7 separate regions of the Homo sapiens genome follow, and all the other regions are linked to region 1. Evidence: promoter capture Hi-C in 16 types of primary human blood cells and fetal thymus (Javierre and others, 2016). All regions are on one chromosome and are shown on one strand. Each heading gives the region's core, a stretch centred on a gene start or on the middle of the fragment in contact. The rest is flanking DNA. Distances are from core to core; before and after follow the strand shown.

The links. Contacts are between HindIII fragments. The CHiCAGO score rates a contact against its expected background, and 5 or more counts as called.
Region 2: a contact is called between a fragment that was not itself captured here and the fragment with the promoter of NCAM2 in region 1, in 3 of 17 cell types (naive B cells, naive CD8 T cells and monocytes). The highest score is 7.2, in naive B cells.
Region 3: a contact is called between a fragment that was not itself captured here and the fragment with the promoter of NCAM2 in region 1, in 6 of 17 cell types (naive B cells, total B cells, naive CD4 T cells and 3 more). The highest score is 9.3, in naive B cells.
Region 4: a fragment that was not itself captured here is called in contact with the fragment with the promoter of NCAM2 in region 1 in 2 of 17 cell types (naive B cells and M0 macrophages); the score reaches 8.9 in naive B cells.
Region 5: a fragment that was not itself captured here is called in contact with the fragment with the promoter of NCAM2 in region 1 in 2 of 17 cell types (total B cells and naive B cells); the score reaches 13.1 in total B cells.
Region 6: a contact is called between a fragment that was not itself captured here and the fragment with the promoter of NCAM2 in region 1, in 1 of 17 cell types (M0 macrophages). The highest score is 5.3, in M0 macrophages.
Region 7: a fragment that was not itself captured here is called in contact with the fragment with the promoter of NCAM2 in region 1 in 1 of 17 cell types (endothelial precursors); the score reaches 5.1 in endothelial precursors.

The regions. Positions count from the first base shown.
Region 1 is chr21:20,997,019-20,999,985 of GRCh38, forward strand. NCAM2 (neural cell adhesion molecule 2) reads left to right here and starts at 1,391. Exons shown (of 18, transcript NM_004540.5): 1 at 1,391-1,600. The coding sequence starts at 1,546. The HindIII fragment of the contact is 4,236 bases long and covers 1-2,320 here.
Region 2 is chr21:23,977,877-23,980,843 of GRCh38, forward strand. No RefSeq gene overlaps it. Among named protein-coding and RNA genes, the nearest start is that of LINC01689, 340 kb to the right of the region's middle. The HindIII fragment of the contact is 2,002 bases long and covers 439-2,440 here.
Region 3 is chr21:23,957,484-23,960,450 of GRCh38, forward strand. No RefSeq gene overlaps it. Among named protein-coding and RNA genes, the nearest start is that of LINC01689, 360 kb to the right of the region's middle. The HindIII fragment of the contact is 721 bases long and covers 1,238-1,958 here.
Region 4 is chr21:18,287,043-18,290,009 of GRCh38, forward strand. All of the region lies in intron 21 of TMPRSS15 (transmembrane serine protease 15), which reads right to left. Among named protein-coding and RNA genes, the nearest start is that of CHODL, 44 kb to the left of the region's middle. The HindIII fragment of the contact is 4,039 bases long and covers 1-2,967 here.
Region 5 is chr21:18,303,183-18,306,149 of GRCh38, forward strand. All of the region lies in intron 18 of TMPRSS15 (transmembrane serine protease 15), which reads right to left. Among named protein-coding and RNA genes, the nearest start is that of CHODL, 60 kb to the left of the region's middle. The HindIII fragment of the contact is 2,415 bases long and covers 371-2,785 here.
Region 6 is chr21:18,488,990-18,491,956 of GRCh38, forward strand. No RefSeq gene overlaps it. Among named protein-coding and RNA genes, the nearest start is that of TMPRSS15, 87 kb to the left of the region's middle. The HindIII fragment of the contact is 200 bases long and covers 1,393-1,592 here.
Region 7 is chr21:23,399,617-23,402,583 of GRCh38, forward strand. No RefSeq gene overlaps it. Among named protein-coding and RNA genes, the nearest start is that of D21S2088E, 16 kb to the left of the region's middle. The HindIII fragment of the contact is 5,433 bases long and covers 1-2,967 here.

The DNA of each region.
Region 1 (2,967 bases), core at 141-2,640:
GAAGGAGCTAGGGTCCTTGTGGAGGCCGGGGCGAGGCAGTTGAGTTTTCTAAGGAGCCAGAGAGAAAGTGCAGATGAAAGGACCCATCGTCAGCGTTTGCAGGTCGCGGTAACCCCAGGCCAGATTGACATGGGCTCCGCACCCGGGCCGGTGATTCTGCCTCTTAACCGCTCTTGCAGGAGAGGTGACGTTAATCTCACAAACGTTTTCCTACCCTTCTAGGAGAAATAACGATAAGCCCCAATCTTAAGGAGCAGAGAGTTAGTTCCGGGCGTTTGCCACGGCTCCCTCACTTCAATTTACACTCGCACACGCGGGTACGTGGGTGTTCGGGGTAGGGCACTGATCTGGGGAAGGTCTCCCCCCCGCGACCCAACTCATCTTTGCACATTTGCAGTCCTCCCTCGGTGCACTCCTGGCGGGGATCTGGCCAGTGCAGCGCACTGGGACCGAGGGCAGAGCCCGCGGAGTGAGGCCAGGAGAGACTTCAGGCCTCTAAGGACACAGCTGAGGCTAAGGCTGAGTTGAACGCAGCCCCTCCCGCGGCTCGTCCCCTCTCCAGTGTCTCTCCCGTAAGGTGCCGCTCCCAACAGCAATGGGTCGAGATGTAGAGGAAACACTCTGTACGTTATTTTTCCGCCCACCCTTTAGCGCCTGAGGAGACAGACAGTGTAGACTTTAGGGTACAATTGCTTCCCCTCTGTCGCGGCGGGGTGGGGAGCGTGGGAAGGGGACAGCCGCGCAAGGGGCCAGCCTGCTCCAGGTTTGAGCGAGAGAGGGAGAAGGAGGTCCACGGAGAGACAAGAATCTCCCTCCTCCCACGCCCAAAAGGAATAAGCTGCGGGGCACACCGCCCGCCTCCAGATCCCCCATTCACGTTGAGCCGGGGCGCGCTCGGGGCGGTCGCCTGCAGTATCAGTATCAGCATCAGCATCAGCATCAGCATCTGCATGAGCATCAGCTCAGCTCAGCTCAGCTCAGCATCAGCTCAGCTGTCCTGAGGCAGCCGGCGGCTGTGAAGGAGCTCCAGGCTGCCCCCATCCCCACGCCCTTCTCGGCTCAGGGCGTGCATGAACCTGCGGATGGCCGGCGGGCGAGTGGCGCCTTCGCGATCGCGGCCGCCCCTCTAGGCGGAGGCACCGGGGACCGAACCCGTGACTTCGAGCTCCACTGCGGACGAATCCCGGGACCGCGCGCCTCGCGGAAGAGCGGCCGCCGTGCAGCGCGGAGGGATACGCCTCGGCCGCACCTCCCCTCGCCGCGCCCCCGCCCCCGCCGCCCTCCCCGCCCGGCTCTGCTGCCGCCGCGGCGGCCGCTGCTGCTGCTGCTTCTGCCGCCGCTGCCGCCGCCGCTGCCTGGATATAGTGCGGCAAGAGCGGAGCTTGCAGTCACTTTGCGAGGAGGAGCGCGCGGGCTGCGGGCGGCTGGGGCACCGCGGGAGCGGCGGCGGCGGCTCTAGCAGAGGCGGCCGGGGCAGCGAAAGGTTCTCTCTCCAGGGCTGGACTTAATAACTTTGAAACTGTCCACCGGTGTCACGTCCTGAACATGAGCCTCCTCCTCTCCTTCTACCTGCTGGGGTTGCTTGTCAGTAGCGGGCAAGGTAGGAGTGTGGCGCTTTATTGCATTTACTTTCCCTCCCCCTTCCACCCGGCCAAGAGAGGCAAAGAGGGAGGCGCAGGAAGAATGAAATGAAAGAACTAAAGTTACAGTTATTGCTGTTGTTGTTATTATTATTTTCGTTCTTTCTCCTAGCTGTCCCTAAAATTGTATCTGTTGTGTGGAGACCCTTAAATAAGAGAAGGGAAAATACAGAATTGGAGAGGGGAATCGGTGAGCAGGATATCCAGGGAAACCGCTTCTTCTTCTTCTTTTTTTTTCCTCTGGGATTATGGCTTTCTCTTATTTTTATTATCAGAAATTGGATGAGTGTGTTAACAGTGAAATATCTGAGGTTGCGGAAGGAAAGGGCACGATGGTGTTTTACAGAAGCAGCAAAAACTATCAGTGTTAAACTCATTTGCAAAATATCTGCTGTGTGCAAGACGTTCGATTCTTGGAGACTCTTTTTTTTTTCCACCCCTTTCCCAAAACCCTAATTCCTGACTATGAAGTGAATGATGATGGCTTATTTCTGTTGGAAACTAAGAGAGGGGCCGTGGATATTGTGTGTAAGAAAGCAAATGGATAAAACTAGGGATGTGTTGCAGTCATTCATTTTGACCCCAACCCCTTATTAATACAGAAAGGTGGAATCATTTTATAACATTACATTGTAATTACACCTGTAGAGGATTTTTGGGGTTGTGGGAGAACTGGTGGAAGCTTTTATCTCTTAAAAAAAAAAAATGAATAGCCTGGTAGAATAACCTGAGAGGGAATTTGTGGAAGCTATCACTGTTTGTCTCTAGAGAGATAGATATGAATTTATCTGGCTGTTTAGATAGTAAACACTCACATGAAATATATTTACAATAAATGGAAGCATTTTCAACTGTCCAGACAAGTTTGGACGTTTAATTAGGGACACAAAATGCTAAAACATGCATTGGTGAAAGTCTTTAAAGGAAAAATAAAATAGCACTAATTTTGAGATATGTAATGATTGCAAAGAATGTTATGTTGTTAGTGTAGTGTGAAATTGGTTTTTTAAAATAATATAATAAATTACAAGACAAGTTAAAATATCCCCAAGATATTCAGTTCTAAGCATTTTTAGCCTCTTCTGTATTGCTCGTTTGGTCCAGCAGGGGGTGGTAGAACTCCATTTTAAGCCCAGAAGTTGGTTTCTGCTCTTCCACAGAGTCCTTCTATCATTCTTCAGCAGGGCTTGACATTTTGGATGTGAAGCCTTCCTTTTTCTGCCCTTCTCCTCCCCACAGCTATAGTGTTAGTGGCGGATGAAACACGATTGGATGCAGATTTAATGTTCAGAAATCAGTATGCAAATGTTGGATATTCCTATAGTTT
Region 2 (2,967 bases), core at 190-2,689, 3.0 Mb after region 1:
TTCCAAGACCTAGAAAAAATTAAAAGTTTATTATATTGAAAATTAAAAATAGTTAAGGATAGATTTTATAAAGCATTATTGCACCAAAAAAAAATTCTTGGTCAAACATTATGTTGTAATTCTATAATAGACTTTTCCAGTTTGCCCAAGGCAGTTCTAATTTATACCTGATGTTTCAACACAATAGAAAATAACAGTGCCTTTGACTCTGAACGGAGTGCTATGAATTGAAGAATAGAAATTATATACTCTGTTTCAGCGTGGATACCACAAGGAATGAGGAAATACTTTCCTCTTAACCACAAACCCTCAAAAACACCAACCTTGTTCCTGTTTTGGGAACTCTGTGCTAGACATTATCTTAGTCTAGAATACTTACCAAATTGTCTCAAAACTGCCTCAGGGTTGACAGATTTTTGCTTAAATATAATTTTTCAAAGCTTTTTACTGACTATATTATTTAGGCATACATTCAACTGAAAATAACATAAAACCCAACTAGTATAGCTGAAAAAGTAAGGGATTTACTTGTTCCATGCACCAAATAGTTTAGAAAGGGTTAGTCGGGCTTGAATGGCAGCTCAATTTTCCATCAAGTACTCAAGAATTTTGTATTCTAGTGTGCTTAAATGAGTACACTTTTGTCCCTATTCTTATTGCTTCATGATCTTAAGGTAGCCGCTCCATCTGCAAAATCCATGTTTACAATAGTAAAAGGGTTTTCTCATAGTAAGACTTTCAAATTTTACTTGGGAACGAATGCCATCTTCAGAGACATTCACCTGCCTCTTCTTGACTGGAACTATATTGTATGAACACACCAAGATGAAAGAGAATGAGAGAAGCGGGTATATTTGCATGCAGTCCTGAAAAAAATTGGAATCTGTTAATATGGGAAATAGGGAAACAGATTTGTTGTAAGCAAACGGCAACATACACCACTTTGATCAACCAAACTCAAATATTCTTATCTCAGCTTCTATGGTTTGAATGTGTCCCCCAAAATTCACATGTTGGGAACTTACTACTCATTGCGGCAGTGTTGAGAGGTGGGGCTTAATAGAAGGTGATTGGGTCACGAAGGCACAGCCCTCATGAAGGCGTTCATGCAGTCACTGTGGCTCAGTTATCACAAGAGCGGGTAGTTATAAAAGTAGGCCAGGGCCGGGCGCGGTGGCTCACGCCTGTAATCCCAGCACTTTGGGAGGCCGAGGCGGGCGGATCACGAGATCAGGAGGTCGAGGCCATCCTGGCTAACGCAGGGAAACCCCGTCTCTACTAAAAAATAAAATACAAAAAATGGGCCGGGTGTGGCGGCGGGCGCCTGTAGTCCCAGCTACTCGAGAGGCTGAGGCAGGAGAATGGAGCGAACCCAGGAGGTGGAGGTTCCAGTGAGCCGAGATCGCGCCACTGCACTCCAGCCTGGGCGACAGAGCGAGACTCCCCCTAAAAATAAATAAATAAATAACTAAAAATAAAAAAAAAGTAGGCCAGGACCCTCATGTTTTTTCTCTCATACAAACTCTCTTGCTGTTGTGCGCTGCACCATGGGATGACCTCACTAGATGCCAGAAACGTGTTCTTTAACTTTCTAGGCTCCAGAGCCATGAGCCGAAATAAACTTGTATTTTTTTTTTTTTTTTTTTTTTTTCAGACTGAGTCTTGCTCTGTCGCCCAGGCTGGAGTGCAGCCGCGCGATCTCTGCTCACTGCAAGCTCCTCCTCCCGGGTTCACGCCTTTCTGCCTCAGCCTCCGGAGTAGATGGGACTGCAGGTGCCCACCACCATGGCCGGCTAATTTTGTTTTTGTATTTTTAGTAGAGACGGGGTTTCACCGTGTTAGCCAGGATGGTCTCGATCTCCTGACCTCGTGATCCGCCCGCCTCGGCCTCCCAAAGTGCTGGGATTACAGGCGTAAGCCACCGTGCCCCACCTGCTATATTCTTAATGACTTGATAAGTGTCTAGAATAAATAAATAATTATAGTTTTACATTATATTATTGTATAAATGAATGAGGAAATACATACATGATTGAACAGTCTTGTATTAATTAACATAGTAGATGAGACTATAATTTTGAAGGATATCTACTAATAAATATTCAATTATTTATAGTTTTCATAAAGTTGTAGATTCACTGTAAGTCCAAAAGTTAGCAAATTCTTTTTTAATCATGTTTAATCCTAGAATATTACAGTCATAACTAGGTTGGTGATGCTCTATCCCAGTGGTGTCCAATCTTTTGGCTTCTCTGGGCCACAATGGAAGGAGAAAACTTGTCTTGGGCTACGCATAAAATATATATAACATTGATGATAGCTGATGAGGTTAAAAAAATCACAAAAAAACATAATGTTTTAAGAAAGTTTGCAAATTTGTGGTGGGCTGCATTCAATGTGGTCCTGGGCTGCATGTGGCCCATGGGCCTTGGGTTAGACAAGCTTGCTTTATACATCTACTTTAACAATTAAAAGTAGAGAAAAATTATCATAAATTCTGCTATCCTTTGTAGAATCTCTGAATTCAACATTTACTAGAAGTCTCAAAGTTTGTGTTACACTCAGCATCACATTGAGTGTGACTGCTCAACGGTGGGTCTAATGTGCCACATCTGCATAAAAACCAGAGGTAGCACAGTCACCACCTACAGTTTCTTCTTATCTTTACTCTTTTCGGATCCTCACTAGTAATGATACTTCATATTGTAATGGCTCCACAAGCTTGGCAGCCATTTCTATGGGGCTCTACTTGGTAAATGGGACAGGATAATATATCTATGTCTTGTCCAGAACTAGGAAGAAGTGTCGGGATACCAAGAAGAAAAGGAGGAATTAATGCTTCAAGTATTTCACAATTGCATTCTTAAGCAAGAACACACAACTCATTGTTTTTCTTCACAGTAAGTCCAAATTTTCTAACATCACTCCTTTTCCGTCTCACACATACACACCAATCTATCATCAGAT
Region 3 (2,967 bases), core at 348-2,847, 3.0 Mb after region 1:
TATTAGTAAGAAACCCCATTGGGAGGTGTAGTGGCTGCAGTGCCCCAGGAATTCACTAATAAATAGTACACATGCACTGACAAGATAAGGACAAATGAGAGTGGCTCTGACAACCTAATTATGTATTTTTGTAGACTGGGCATTGCAGAGTTCAGCCGTTCAGAGGAATGTGTGGTAGAACATATTGTGAACACAGAGGCATGATAGGGCCAAGCCTGAACGATGTGGAGCACAGAAGGCCCTGGAATACCAGGCCCCACAACCAATGCTGAGCTCATCACCCAAGAAAGCAATAAATTAATCATGTCCAAAGTACACTGTGTTTCTGTTTTTATGTGTGAAAATGAGAAACTTGGGAATAAAAGTAAATTTTTTGACATACTGATCTCCTGAAAGCAATTCTTTTTGACATTTTAAAGATCCTTATTTTCAGAAGCTATTCTGTTTGAAATCTGAGATTCTAAGACGTCAAAGGTATACTTTTAATAGTTTCACTTGCTATTATACTGTTACTTAATTGAAAAAATCTGTTGTTATTTAATATCTTTCACATTCTTGTTTTCTCTGTAGCTTTTAAACGTAAAACTTTTTTCCTGGATCATGCAAGTTTAAAATTCAAATATCATTACTTATATTCAAGGCATTATTAAAATGAAACATATATTTAAATATTTCATGCAAAACTGAAAACTTTGTAAAGTTTTTTCCTTAAAATGTGTTTCATCATATATATTTATCATGTTATAGTAGTTTAAAATGGATGAGGTTTGTTTCCCCAGTTTTACCTTTTATTTTTCCAAAAAAGGTTAATGTGCTATTATAAAAATAAAACAATTTTTGGCTTTGTCTGCCATGAGTAATAGGACCTGCTGAATTAAATTTTATCTTTGCCCCAGGCACATTGTGAATTTAAAGTCTTTGCAATTTCTCATTTTTCTTTTCAAGTCAGAAATGGGCTTGAAGTTTCATAAGAATTTCAAACTCAGATGAAAACTGTCACACCAGCACCTGCAGCAGCTTTATGCACCATGAAGGATTAATCTTGTGAAATAATCTTACAAGTAACTTTTACCTGTCTGATATTTAAGACCTCACTATTTAAGAAGATACACAAAAAATCTAAATGCAGTTTCCTTAACATTACTATCCATTATAGATAGAAATCCTGTAACAAGTTGAGTCATTATCTGAGAGGAATCATAGTATATCTATCTATTTAGTATATTAATTTTAGAAAAGCTTTTATTGTAAATATTTTAAGAGTTGTTTTTTGAGAATTGTAGCTAAGCCATTTAAAATAGAAATATTTAACATGTAAATGTTACCATTAGATTATCGTTCTATATAGAATGTTTTTAAGAACTGAGATTTTGAAAACCTTAGAGATATATAAGTTGATAATACAGAAGTGGGTCAATGATATGTATACAAAGTAATAAATATAGATTTAAGCAAAGAAAATGTATTGGTTAACAGGAATATCATAGCACCAGTAATTAAAAATATAGAGAGTAACAATGGATAATCATTTATCTATCTACTTATGTGTTCCTCCCTTTTCCCACAAAATTTAGAAAAATTTTACAGATTATTCTAGTAAAGATATAATAAAAATAATGCACTGCAAGAAAACAGATAGGCTTTTTAAAATAAATAAACTTGCTATTATGTCAAGTGCATAAAAGTAAGAGATATTGTAGTTTCTCTAAGAATATAATTTTGCTAAAATAAAATAAGCAGGCACAAACAAATATATGAGCAAAAACCAGAAGTTTTATTAGGAGTAGAAACATTAAATGGTCACAATAGTTAGTGAATTGTAGAAATATGAATTTTTTGCCTTGTTTTCTATCTTCTGTATGGTTTTTTAAATACTAAAAATGACAATTTTTAACATATATCGAAATATAGAAAAAGTCTGCGATACGATATTGACTAAAAACTATGGTATAATGTTAAGCTTCTAAAAATATCTAAAATAGATAAAAATATTGTAAATAACATAAAGATTATAAAGCCAAAAATAAATTAATTTTATTCTTGCTAGAAGTCACCTACCAAACAAAAAATTACCATTGATGAATATGTAACTTCCATACCTTAAGATTTTGTATCCTGAATAAAAATTTGGTGGCATAGTTACATTTTTTTTTTTAATTTACTCATTAGAATCCTCTTGTATTTGTAGTTTTTTTTTTTTGTACCAGAGCTATTTGTCCAAATAAGAACTCTTTGGTTATTATATGATTCCATTAGTTATGTGCCTTTTTTGTGAAACATGTAATAAAAACTTGTTCTTGCTACAATTTCTCCTGTTTAGTAACATTTCTTTAGAAAAAGCAAATAATTTATATGTAATTAATAAACTACTGCGTTCAATAATATTAATTTACTAATATTTGCGATGGACTCCAGCCTAAAACTGTATGTTATTTGTTTTTTCATAAAATTTGAATAGACTTATTATCAATTTAAACCCAAAGTCATTTAATGTTTTAAAAAGAAAAGCAAACTTTTTTGTGCATTTGCTATGTGCTAGGGACTTTGCAACCATTCTCTTATTTAATTCTAATTTAATAGCCCCCTGAGATGCAACTATCATTTACCCCATTTTCTTATAAACACTATCTCAGAGAAGTGCAACAATGTGCCCAAGAGAGGACAAGATGTGCTTGAAAGATGTGAAGCTCAATTTCAAATCGGTCTGAACCTGAATTAAGAGATTTAATCACTATACTCTATAATGGGTACTAACCACACCCCCTTGCCCTTTATCCTTGTTAGTTTACTGCAGTACTTTATACAAACCTTTCTTCTTGTTTCTTCTTGGTGTTTTTATGATGCAGTTAATCCGTTCCCTCATTCAATAAATACCACACTTATACAGTACCTAAAGAAAGCATTCTTTCCTTTCCTTCTCCATGTAATAGTCACCTTGAACCTGAATTTATGCAAATAACTGCATAT
Region 4 (2,967 bases), core at 180-2,679, 2.7 Mb before region 1:
CTCTTATCATATTTTCTGTTCATACTACTTTTCTTTACTGCATGTATCACTGCTAAAGTATTTATTTAAATGTTTTTCAGCCTTAACATGTCATATAAACCTTATCAGAGGAAAGATTTTGTTGGTCTGTACAGCACTATCATCTCCAAACTTAGAAAACTACTTAGCACAGGATAAGTGCTCAGCAAATGTCATCTGATTGAATGGATATATAAAAAACAGTAAGCAATCCAAGAGCAGGAAGGAATGAATATTACCAGTGGTTCCTCATAACAGCCAGGTAACGGGCAGAGTTGCGTATCAATCCACATAATTTCACTCTCTGTTCTTCCTCAGTCTTCTCCCACCCCACCCAGCTCTTTTTTCTTTTTAATGTTTAGAGTCTCAAACTCTAAATATTAAAATATTCCTTCTTTGTGTAACAAGTGGTTATGCAAAATAACTAAGAAAAAAGGTGGCTCAACAATGTGATCCAAGATGATGAATTAATTATCAAAGTAGAGGTAACTTGAGAGATACGATAGAAACTTTTAGGAAATGAAATTTCTGAGTGCACTAATAATTATAATGAGATACATGCCAAAGAGACATATGTTATTAAATAGTGGTAATAGAATGGTGTCAAGGAAATGGATTGCACGATATAGGTCAAGAGAGACTTACAGGAAACACAATTTTACAGGGAAACACAAGGTTGGAAGTTGATATAACCTCTAATAAAGACATAAATCTAAAAAGTCTTAGTGATACAGTAAGATAGTATTAACTTTTAGGAAGATGACTAGCACTCAAACTTGAAATATTTTGGAAAAGGATCCAAGACCTAAGCTCTAACCAAAGTCAATATTACTAACCTACCCTTGAAATCTCTACTGTCTATGACTATTTATCAGAGAACTAAGAATAGAGCTACCATTTGATCTAGTACTCCCACTGCTAGGAATCAATCCAAAGGAAAAGAAATCAGTGTATCAAAAAGATACCTGCATTTGTGTGTTTATAACAGCACTATTCACAATAGAAAAGATACTGAATCAACATAAGTGTTCATCAACAGACGACTGGATAAAGAAATGTGGTATATATATGCAATGAAATACTATTCAGCCAGGAGAAAGAATAAAATCATGTCTTTTGCAGCAACATGGATGGAACTGGAGGCCATTATCTTAAGTGAAACAACTCACATGCAGAAAGACAAATTTCAAATATTCCCACTTATAAGTGGGAGCCAAATAATGTATAGTGGACATAAAGTGTGGAATGATAGATCAGAGAGAGTTAGAAGGATGGCGCTGTGGGAGGCGGGTGGATATTAAGAAATTAATGTGTAGAGTGTACATTATTCAGGTGATGGATACCCTAAAAGCCCTGACTTCCTCACTATGCAATCCACCCATGTAACAAAATTACACTTGTACCCCATACATTTACACAAATAGCATTTAAAAGAGAAGTCTCTATTGTCCTAAGAAAATGCTCTTCCTTTTTTTTTTTTTTTTTTTTTTTTTGAGATGGAGTGTTGTGTTGCTCTGTCTCCCAGGCTGGAGTGCAGTGGTGCGATCTCGGCTCACCACAACCTTCGCCTCCCGGGTTCAAGCAATTCTCTTGCCTCAGCCTCCCGAGTAGCTGGGACTACAGGCGCATGCTGCCACACCTGGCTAATTTCTTTTGTATTTTAGTAGAGACGGGGTTTCACTGTGTTGTCCAGGCTGGTCTCAAACTCCCGAGCTCAGGCCCGCCTCGGCCTCCCAAAGTGCTAGGATTACAGGCATGAGCCACCACACCCGGCCGCTCTTCCTCTTTTTTATCTGCAAATATTACCATAATCTTAAAATGATATTATAGTATTTCTTCAATCTGAAGAACATTATATATTACAAGCCTAACTCCCTAGAACAATAAGACTAGGTAGATAAACAGAAAAATAAAATTAAACTAATTATATGTATATTTTAGGATAAGTTTAAGAAGAAATTAAGTATTTAAAAATTATTGAATTGATATATGTCCTGTGTTCTGCTTAAAGCATGAGACATTCAAAAAAATCCAAATTTTAAGTGGTAATTATGGTATCAATTAAGTAATGTTATTTTATTATAAATGCTTAACTGTTTAAAAAGTTGATTTTCAAAGTTTTATTAGTTATATCAGTTTACTAAATGGAGTACTAAATAAATTATAAATAGGCCGGGCACAGTGACTCACACCTGTAATCCCAGCACTTTGAGAGGCTGAGGTGGGCGGATCACCTGAGGTTGGGCTTTCAAGACCAGCCTGACCAACATGGAGAAACCCCGTCTCTACTAAAAATGCAAAAGTAGCCGGGTGTGGTGGTGCATGCCTGTAATCCCAGCTACTCGGGAGGCTGAGGCAGGAAAATCGCTTGAACCCGGGAGGCGGAGGTTGCAGTGAGCCAAGATCGTGCCATTGCACTCCAGCCTGGGCAACAAGAGTGAAACTCTGTCTCAATAAATAAATAAATGAAGTATAAATAGTAGTCTGTATTTCTTACCATGCCCCAAATACCTCATATATGAAATTATTTATTTCAGGAGTGTTAACACATATTTTAAGGAATTGTTTCAATAAGAAATCAGGTAATCCCTGTGATGTCTCTGGTCTGCTCTGAAAAGCTAAATTAAAGAATGAGATCTTGGCAAGAGGCTCCCTGTCACTAATTTCATCTTTAATAGATGTCCGTTCAATGACTGTGATCCAGACTGTAAATCTATATATGATTGCCCACCCACGTGACTGCATATTTGCTTCTGGAAGCTGGGATGTGAGTGACTAGAAAGAGGTAATGGAGAAACTTTTTGGGTGATTGGAATGTTTTATATCTTCAGAGGAATGTCAGTTTAACAGGTGCATGCATTTAAAAAATGCATCGATTTGTATACTTAAGTTTATGCATTTTCCTATATGTCAGCAGGAAAAAAGAATGGAAAACAAATATGAAACCTT
Region 5 (2,967 bases), core at 328-2,827, 2.7 Mb before region 1:
GTTTTGTAGATTTGCCTCTTTATTTCTTTGGATCTTATTTTTCTGTAGTATTCTATTAACTTTACTGCATATGTTCTTTGTTATATAGACCTCAGTTCCTTTTTGGAAAACAGATAATGGAAGAAAATCATGGGGGAAAAAAGAAAGAATAGAAGCATATGAGGAAAGAAGAAAGAAAATGAGGAAAGGAGAAAGAGGAAGGAAAAATTAAAGGGAGGGAGGAAAAAGGGGATATTATTTCATTGGATTTTATCGATTTTATTCAAAAATTGTTCTTCATCTCATAGAATATATAGCGTTAATTACAAGTTGAGCAGTTGGAAGCACTTTTTAGAATAAAAGCAGAATGAATAAGGAAGGTTTTGTTATAAGCTTCATAGGGCTGAGGTTTTCTGTCCTTACCTATTTCTGTTTTAGAATATAGAAACCTCCTCTTTTCCAAATAACAGGATCTAAGGAAATGATAAAGGACATTGTCTTGGGTGAAAACATACTCTCTTGTTTTTATATAACAAAATAAATACCTATACATTACAGATAATTTTTGGCAGATGATTTGTAATTGTGCCAAAACATAAAAGATGTTCTCCCTCTTTTGTGTGTGTAATTATATTCTTAGTAATTTCCTGACAACAAAGAATCTCTTTGGTGACAAAATACATATTAAAAAGTGTAAGCCAAAATACGAATGAAAGACAAAGAAGATTCTCCCTGAATGGTGGTGGTGCAAAGAAACGACATTTCACAAAAGTCTTGATTTCCAATAAAATATTTTCAAATGCTTAGTAGGAGAAAGGAGGAATAATGTTTTTCCAAGTAAGAAGTAATACCCGTCTGTGGGTGGTGAAAACCTTGCTATGGATATTTTTCACTCTGTTGATGATATCCTTCTCAGATTTCTGATGCAGGTTTTAAAAAATTCTCCATTTGATTTCATCTATGCCAGGGTTCGTGGGGGTCTGGGGTGGTTCTAACAAAGTCAAAGTACGCTAGGACAAACTAAGAAATGTCCTGGATTAAGTCAGATGATTCTCAATAGGGTGTTTAAACCTGGTACGGTAGAAAAAAGTTGTTTGATATGTGTGTGTGTGTGTATCTTTATTTTGTTTTTATTACCAGGTGAAATCAAACTGTCAAAGTTTGGGGATGCTTTGTATAACTTCTATGTTGTTTTCTACTGAAATGAGTATATGAAGGATCGTGCGTGTCTTGACTACTCTGTCAGAATGACCTCGGCCTTTTAAAGAACTAAGACCTCTGGGTCTCACTCCAGCCAGGGTCCTTCACCTCTTTGGAATCCATGGAAGTTCATGATAACATGTAGGAGGTTGGTAGTTGGCAAAGAAATAATTACATCTTTATTTTTACTAACTTTAATCTCTTCTTCTGATACAAATGTAGGTGATTAACCACAAAATTATTAGCAACATCTATAATATGGTCACCAAAATGAACTGCAGATATATTCATATCATATTGCAGTTGCTAGATACATATAAAATATCATTTATGTTCACCTTTGATATTACAGTGGTCATTAGAGCCACCAGTGTATCTTATTAAATATGTTAATAAAGAAATATATATTTCCATGGATTTAAAAATTTTTGATAATTATTTTTAATGTAATAAATTTCCTTTGTAGTTCTGTGTGTTTTAGTTTATATACTTAAAAATACTCTTTTTTGTGTGTAATTATATTCTTATTAATTTCCTGGCAACAAAGTCTCACTTGGGTGACAAAATACATATTAAAAAGTGTAAGCCGAAGTAGGAGCGACAGACAAAGAAGATTCTCCAAATTAAGTTTCCCCAGACTGACAAAAGTACCTATGACACATAAACAAAGGTTGAGAGCACTTACCCTAGGTGGTGGTTCTCAACTCTAGAATGCACCTGAATTACCTGAAGGACTTATTAAATCACAGACTGCTGGGCCTTACGCTAGACTTTTGGGTTCAATAGGCCAGAGGTAGGATTCCAGGATTTGAATTTCCGTACTTTTTTTTTTTTTTTTTTTTTTTGAGACGGAGTCTCCCTCTGTCGCCCAGGCTGGAGTGCAGTGGCGCGATCTCGGCTCACTGCAAGCTCCGCCTCCCGGGTTCACGCCATTCTCCTGCCTCAGCCTCCCGAGTAGCTGGGACTACAGGCGCCCGCCACCGCGCCCGGCTAATTTTTTGTATTTTTAGTAGAGACGGGGTTTCACCGGGTTAGCCAGGATGGTCTCCATCTCCTGACCTCGTGATCCGCCCTTCTCGGCCTCCCAAAGTGCTGGGATTACAGGCGTGAGCCACCACGCCCGGCCCCTTGAATTTCTATAAATTTATCCCAGGTGATTCCATGCTGGGATGGAATTTGGTCCTAAAACCACACATTGAGATCCACTGACCTAGACCATTCTGAATCTAAGAGTCTGAGGCTGAGACTAGGTGATTCTTATGTATAACCAGGCTGTACCTTCAAGAGCTGGTGTAGCTGCTGTATTACAAGTCAGTGGTACACCTATTGTCACTCCCTTGCCCAGAGCAGACATAATTATCTTATCACTGTGCCTTCCCCCACCCTGCTAGATATTAAACCTATTAAGTATTAATGTTAAAAAGTATCAAATTATGGTAGTTTGCTATTAATGATTTGCTCTTTAATTATTTTTAATTAATGCATTTCTAATTTTAAAATGGAGAAAACATCAGAGTTATAATTTGTGCTTCAAGTAAATGATGGACTTTGTAGTTAAGTCAATTAAACCAAATTAAAATAAGATTTCTTCCACAACCTTGCCCAAAGCTTTTCTCACCCACCCCACCACAGTAACATAGCTAAGAATAAAAGTACCTTCTGTGCTGAAGTTGCAAATCAAAAAATTTTAAAAATGTAAAATATTATTTATTTCTGTGTAAAGTTAGCGAATTAAGTAGAAATCATCTAAAGCCAAAGGTTACATTTTTTTTTTACTGTTCCCATATC
Region 6 (2,967 bases), core at 243-2,742, 2.5 Mb before region 1:
GGTGTTATATCCCTAAGTTGGCAAGAGAAGATGAGACCTGACTCTAAGAAGTGGGAAGGCAGGGAAGTGAATGCAGACTTATGGGTGAATAGGTGTTGTGATTGGTTATGTGGAAGCTCTTTTCAGATTGCTTCAGTTTTCTCAGTGAAACAGCAAGCACAATCAGCAACTGGGACAAAGGTAGGGGTGTGATACTGGAAGCTCGAGGAGAGAGAGCGTGTCAAATACTATTGAGAATGTGGAGGCATGAACATACCAACAATATGTGATGTGACGTCTGCCAGCATTAAAGGTTTGCTTAAAGTCTATTGCTATTAATTTATAGTGACAGCAGTCAGTGTATTTTTTTATTCACCTTTACTTTGCTAGATAGATGCAGATATGAAGTAGACACAGAAGTTGCTGTATTGTTGAATTTAACCATCATTATGGTTTTGCCAAAGAGTTCTGTTTTCATGCTGCTAATAAGACATACCTGAGACTGGGTAATTTAGAAAGGGAAGAGCTTTAATTGACTCACACTTCCACATGGCTGGAGAGCCCTCACAATCATGGCGAAAGGCAATTGAGGAACAAAGTCGCGTCTTACATGGTGGCAGGTGAGAGAGCTTGTGTAGGGGAACTCCCATTTATAAAACCATCAGATCTCCTAAAATTTATTCACTACCACGAGAACAGTATGGAGGAAACTACCCCCATGATTCAATTAACTCCACCTGGCCCTGCCCTTGACACGTGGGAATTATTACAATTCAAGGTGAGTTTTGGTTGGAGACACAGCCAAACCATATCAAGTCCAGTAAAGCAAGAACAGAAAGGAATCAGGGGTACTTCAGGGATTATGATGACTGGCCATGTAATTTGAGAGGGGACATTTTGGGGACAGAAGACCACAAAAAGGAAGAATCTCTGAACCAGAGACTTTAAGGTAGTGGTCGACATTTTTGGCACCAGGGACAGGTTTCGTGGAAGACATTTTTTCTGTGAAGTGGGTAGAGGTGGGGGATGATTTGGGGATGCAATAGTTCCACCTCAGATCATTAGGCATTAGTTAAATTCTCAGAGGGATGCACAACCTAGATCCCTTGCTTGCACAGTTCACAATAGAGTTCATTCTCCTATGAGAATCTAATGCTGCCACTGCTCTGACAGGAGGCAGAGCTTAGGTGGGAATGCTCTCTTGCCTGCTGCTCACCTCCTGCTCTGCAGCCCAGTTCCTAACAGGCATGCACAAATACTGACCCATGGCCAGGGTTAGGGACTCCTACTCTAGTTGACTCAAAGGATGGCTAAGATGGAATTACAAGAGGGAGTGATTGCAAAGTTAGCTGTGTCTGTTCTTACTTCTGTGCCATAGTGAAGTGTTTCCTGGCCATTGCCATATCCTTCATAAGCTTCCACTGATGCCTAGCCCTGTAAGAAAAAAAGTGGATACACATATCCTTCTGTCCTCTGTGTGGTACACTAGGCTTTGATGTCTTACAGCACTTTTAGTGACTCCTTTCAGTTTTTACTTGCTGCTTTCCCATCTTCTTCTCCTGTGATAAATCCAGGAAAGACACGTCTAAATGATAGCCCTCTACCAAAGGCCAAGCTTTCTGTCTTTGTATACTCAGGGTACGTCGTCTTTGAAATACTCAGTATTTGACATACTCAGGGTATGTTGTCTTCCAGGAGGCCTCTTATTTCTATCTGACAATTCACCGTCAGTGTTTTGTTGAATCAGTATAAATCAATCTTACTCATCTCATGTATATGCTTGTCTATCTCTACTTTGATGAATTTCTCAAAATCAGGGCCTGTCTCTTAGTCACTGTATCTATGTACAAGACCTAGCCAATGGCTAGCATAAAATAACGTATCCTAATTAATCAAAAGATCTGTTATCACCTGAAATTCAGCTCCATATCTAATTACATACTTGATCTATCATGACTATTTCCCATTCACCACACGTTTGGAAAATATAACATTGAGCTAATTCATTACTTACCTATCCAGAGAGGCTCACTGCTCTGATGTCCTTCTCCACCACCCCGCTCCCTGCAAGTATTCACAACATTTTCTAAACCACCTATGTTTGGAACTCTGGGTCTTTCTTTCATCTCACTTCTGCATTTTTCAGATCCCTTTACCAAACCTTATAAGTAATTTATATTTCTTTCATCTGGCTTTTGCTGTTTCCAGATCCCTTTACCAAGCCCTATAAACAAATATTTTAAAATGTCTTATTCACTAATTTCTTTATTTTTATTTCTATTGCAGTCACTCTTTTTCTTAGATTCAGAGTCATTTACTCATTCTATAAATTATTTTTAAGCACCTACTAAGAGCCAGAGACCTACTAAGTGCTAGGTGCTGGAGAGAGAGTTTTAAACAAACCACGCAAAGTCTATTCTTTCATGGAGCTTGCATTCTAAATGCCTTAGCAAGAAAGTATAAAATAGTGCTTCTGTGCTATTTAAGAATTTAAAACCGAGTTTGGGATAGAAAGTGACCTGGAGTCTACTTTACATTGAGTGATGGAAGGTTCCCTGAGAAAGTGACATGAAAACTGACCTAAATTAATGACATTCACTGACACCTTTGCTGACTGTTCCACATCTCTTGTATCTCACTCTGTCCTACAGATCTTTCTGCCCTCGCACTTATTTAGTGTATTACATAAGGTAGCCATTGAAAATATGTAACTTGGTATTTTTATCATAATTGTCTCAGGTATATCAACTATGAACTTAGAGTATAAAGTCTCTGAGAGTGAGACTATCACCATCTATACCAACATGCAAAGGAAGGAGCCTCTGAAATGGGAGGTAAAATGTTAGCTTTCCTGTTTTTATACTCAGAATTTTAGTTTTATATTTGTTAATAGAAATTTTAAGATTAATTTAAAAATAGATTCACTTATTCCTAAAACTCTTCATATTTATCACCTGAATATGAATTCCTCCAGCAGTGTTTTTTTTC
Region 7 (2,967 bases), core at 126-2,625, 2.4 Mb after region 1:
CATATATTTACTATTCGTTTTCTTTCAACTCCCTAACACATTTGCATTGTATTAAATGAAATACATGATTTCTATAAAGCCATCTGATATTATTATAGGAGGGAGCTAGATGATAAGAGACAAGTACTTAATGTTTTACAATCTTACAAAATATTCATTTAATGACCGTTATGTATAACACTGTCAACCTGGATATTTAGACCATTCACCCCACATACCCTGTTTATCTCTGCTAAGCATCACATCCCCTAAACTGAGCTAGTTAAGTGCTACATAATAAGTACATCTTTGCAAAAGCTGTTAAAAGGAGCATAAAACCAAAATCAAACCCCAAACTTAGTGGGAGACACAAGTACTGGAAAAGCAGAAAACATGGGTTTTATTATTTAATACACAGAGACCTATCAGCACTACATCAGAACTTTGAATTTCAAGAGGAGAGAAATCGTCTTCTTTTGTGTAATTTGTTTCTGCATGTATTAGTTTGTTCTCATGCTCTTAATAAAGACATATCCTGAAACTGAGTAATTTACAAAGGAAAAAGGTTTAATTGACTAACAGTTCCACAAAGCTGGGGAGGCCTTACAATTAAGACAGAAAGCGATTGAGGAGCAAAGTCACGTCTTACATGGTGGCAGGCAAGAGAGCTTGTGGAGGGGAACTCTCCTTTATGAAACCATCAGATTTCGTAAGGCTTATTCACTATCAGGAGAACAGCACAGGAAAGACCCATCACCATGATTCAGTTACCTCCCGTGTGGTCCCTCCATGACACGTGGGAATTACAGGAGCTACAATTCAAGATGAGATTTGGGTTGGGGACACAGCCAAACCATATCACTGCAGAGAGCCAATTTCTATTTTTTCCATGTATTCTATTTTTCTCATATGGTTGGGTTTGGAATAGTAATAAAAACAATATATATATCTAGATCATAAAACATGCTCTATGTAAAATTATTTACAGACTCATAAGACATGCAAAACTTTTAACTCACATACAAAAGACACAAATATGGTGATTCAGTGACCACTATAAATATATTTATGTAAGCATGGTTATGATAGATACGTAGACAAAATAATAAAAGGTAAATTGGAGTATACAAATCATTAACAGATGCCAGGCTCGGTGGCTCACACTTGTAATCCCAGCACTTTGGGAGGCTGAGGCGGGCAGATCATGAGGTCAGGAGACCGCGACCATACTTGCTAACATGGTAAAACCCTGTCTCTACTAAAAATACAAAAAATTAGCCAGGTGTGGTGGCATGTGCCTGTAGTCCCAGCTACTTGGGAGGCTGAGGCAGGAGAATCGCTTGAACCCAGGAGGCGGAGGTTGCAGTGAGCCAGTATCATGCCACTGCACTGCAACCTGGGTGTCAGAGTATGACTCTGTCTCAAAAAAAAAAAAAAGAAAAGAATTTATTAGACGAATATAGGAAAACCATAATTAATAAAATGTACTTCTTATTTACAAGGTTTTAGATTCATTGCCCGATAGTTTAGTATTTGTTAATCTGGTAAAATACATAATTGGGTATGGGTGAAGCAGCTATAAAAGAGACTCCCCAAACACAATATTTTAATCTAGTTTTATCTCTCACTTAACAATATGGCTGATCTGGTGGGCTTGATGGTGTCAGAAACGAAGTCTCCATCCATTTTTGAGTTTTGCCATTCCCACATTCCCACATGCTATTGCTTGGTGACATCCAGCCATGAGGTTAAAATTAAAAAAAAAAAAAAAAAAAAAAAGAAAGAGAGGGAAAACTCATATTCTTTGAAGTAAATTATTCTGCAAATATTCTGCTTATATTTCATTGGCCCAAACTTAGTCGCATCATGCCACCTTGAGGTCATCTGAAGTACTAGGCTGAGAAGAAAATAATTTGCATGACTTAATATTTGCTATTGGTTAGCTCCCACACCTGACCCAGAAATCTTCATACAAGGTGTTGCGGAAAGGATTAGAGAGCCAGCTTTGTCTCCAAGTCCTCTATAGAGCAGGGTCATTTTTACAACTAGTATTAGTTCATCTATGGTAGAACTTTGATTACAGAAGCAATAAACACAATCACACAATATTTTTTCTCGTGTTGTTGCTTTTTCCATCCAGTTCTAGTAAATTTTCAAGCTCAATTTGCACATGCTTTGTCTTTCAAAATATCCCAGGGCAGCACTTTGGGAGGCCGAGGTGGGCGGATCTCGAGGTCAGAAGATCGAGACCATCCTGGCTAACATGGTGAAACCCTGTCTCTACTAAAAACACACAAAAAAATTAGCCGGGTGTGGTAGCGGGCGCCTGTAGTCCCAGCTACTAGGGAGGCTGAGGCAGGAGAATGGCGTGAACCCGGGAGGTGGAGCTTACAGTGAGCCGAGATCGCGCCACTGCACACCTGCCTGGGCGACAGAGCGAAACTCCGTCTCAAATATATATATACACATATATATATATATATATATATATATATATACACACACATATATATATATATGTATATATATATGTGTATATATATATACATATATATATATATACATATATATATATATATATATGTATATATATCCCAAGGAACATTCTTACCATAACTTAACAAGGATCTGAGTAATATCTAAGTCCTTTTTCCTACCTAATCTTTAATCTACTAGTGGGGATGTCATTTAGATTTTGGATTGTTTATTGTTTTTTGGTTTTGTTTTTGTAGTATGTTAACACATGTTTGTACCAATATTTCTCTTGGATATAATAATTAATAGGTGACTTCAGCAAGGAACTCCAAAATCAGAGTTCATGTTTTCCTTCTGTAATAATCTAAATAGTTTTTTTTAAAGGCAAACATCAAAATGTTGAGGTGTTGAAGACCCAGGTTCCCCCCATGTCTAGCTGTACTATCCCTAGGATGGATTACCTGTTTAGATGAGGATACCTAGCCACTAAGCCAACATTCCAGCTTTTAATAA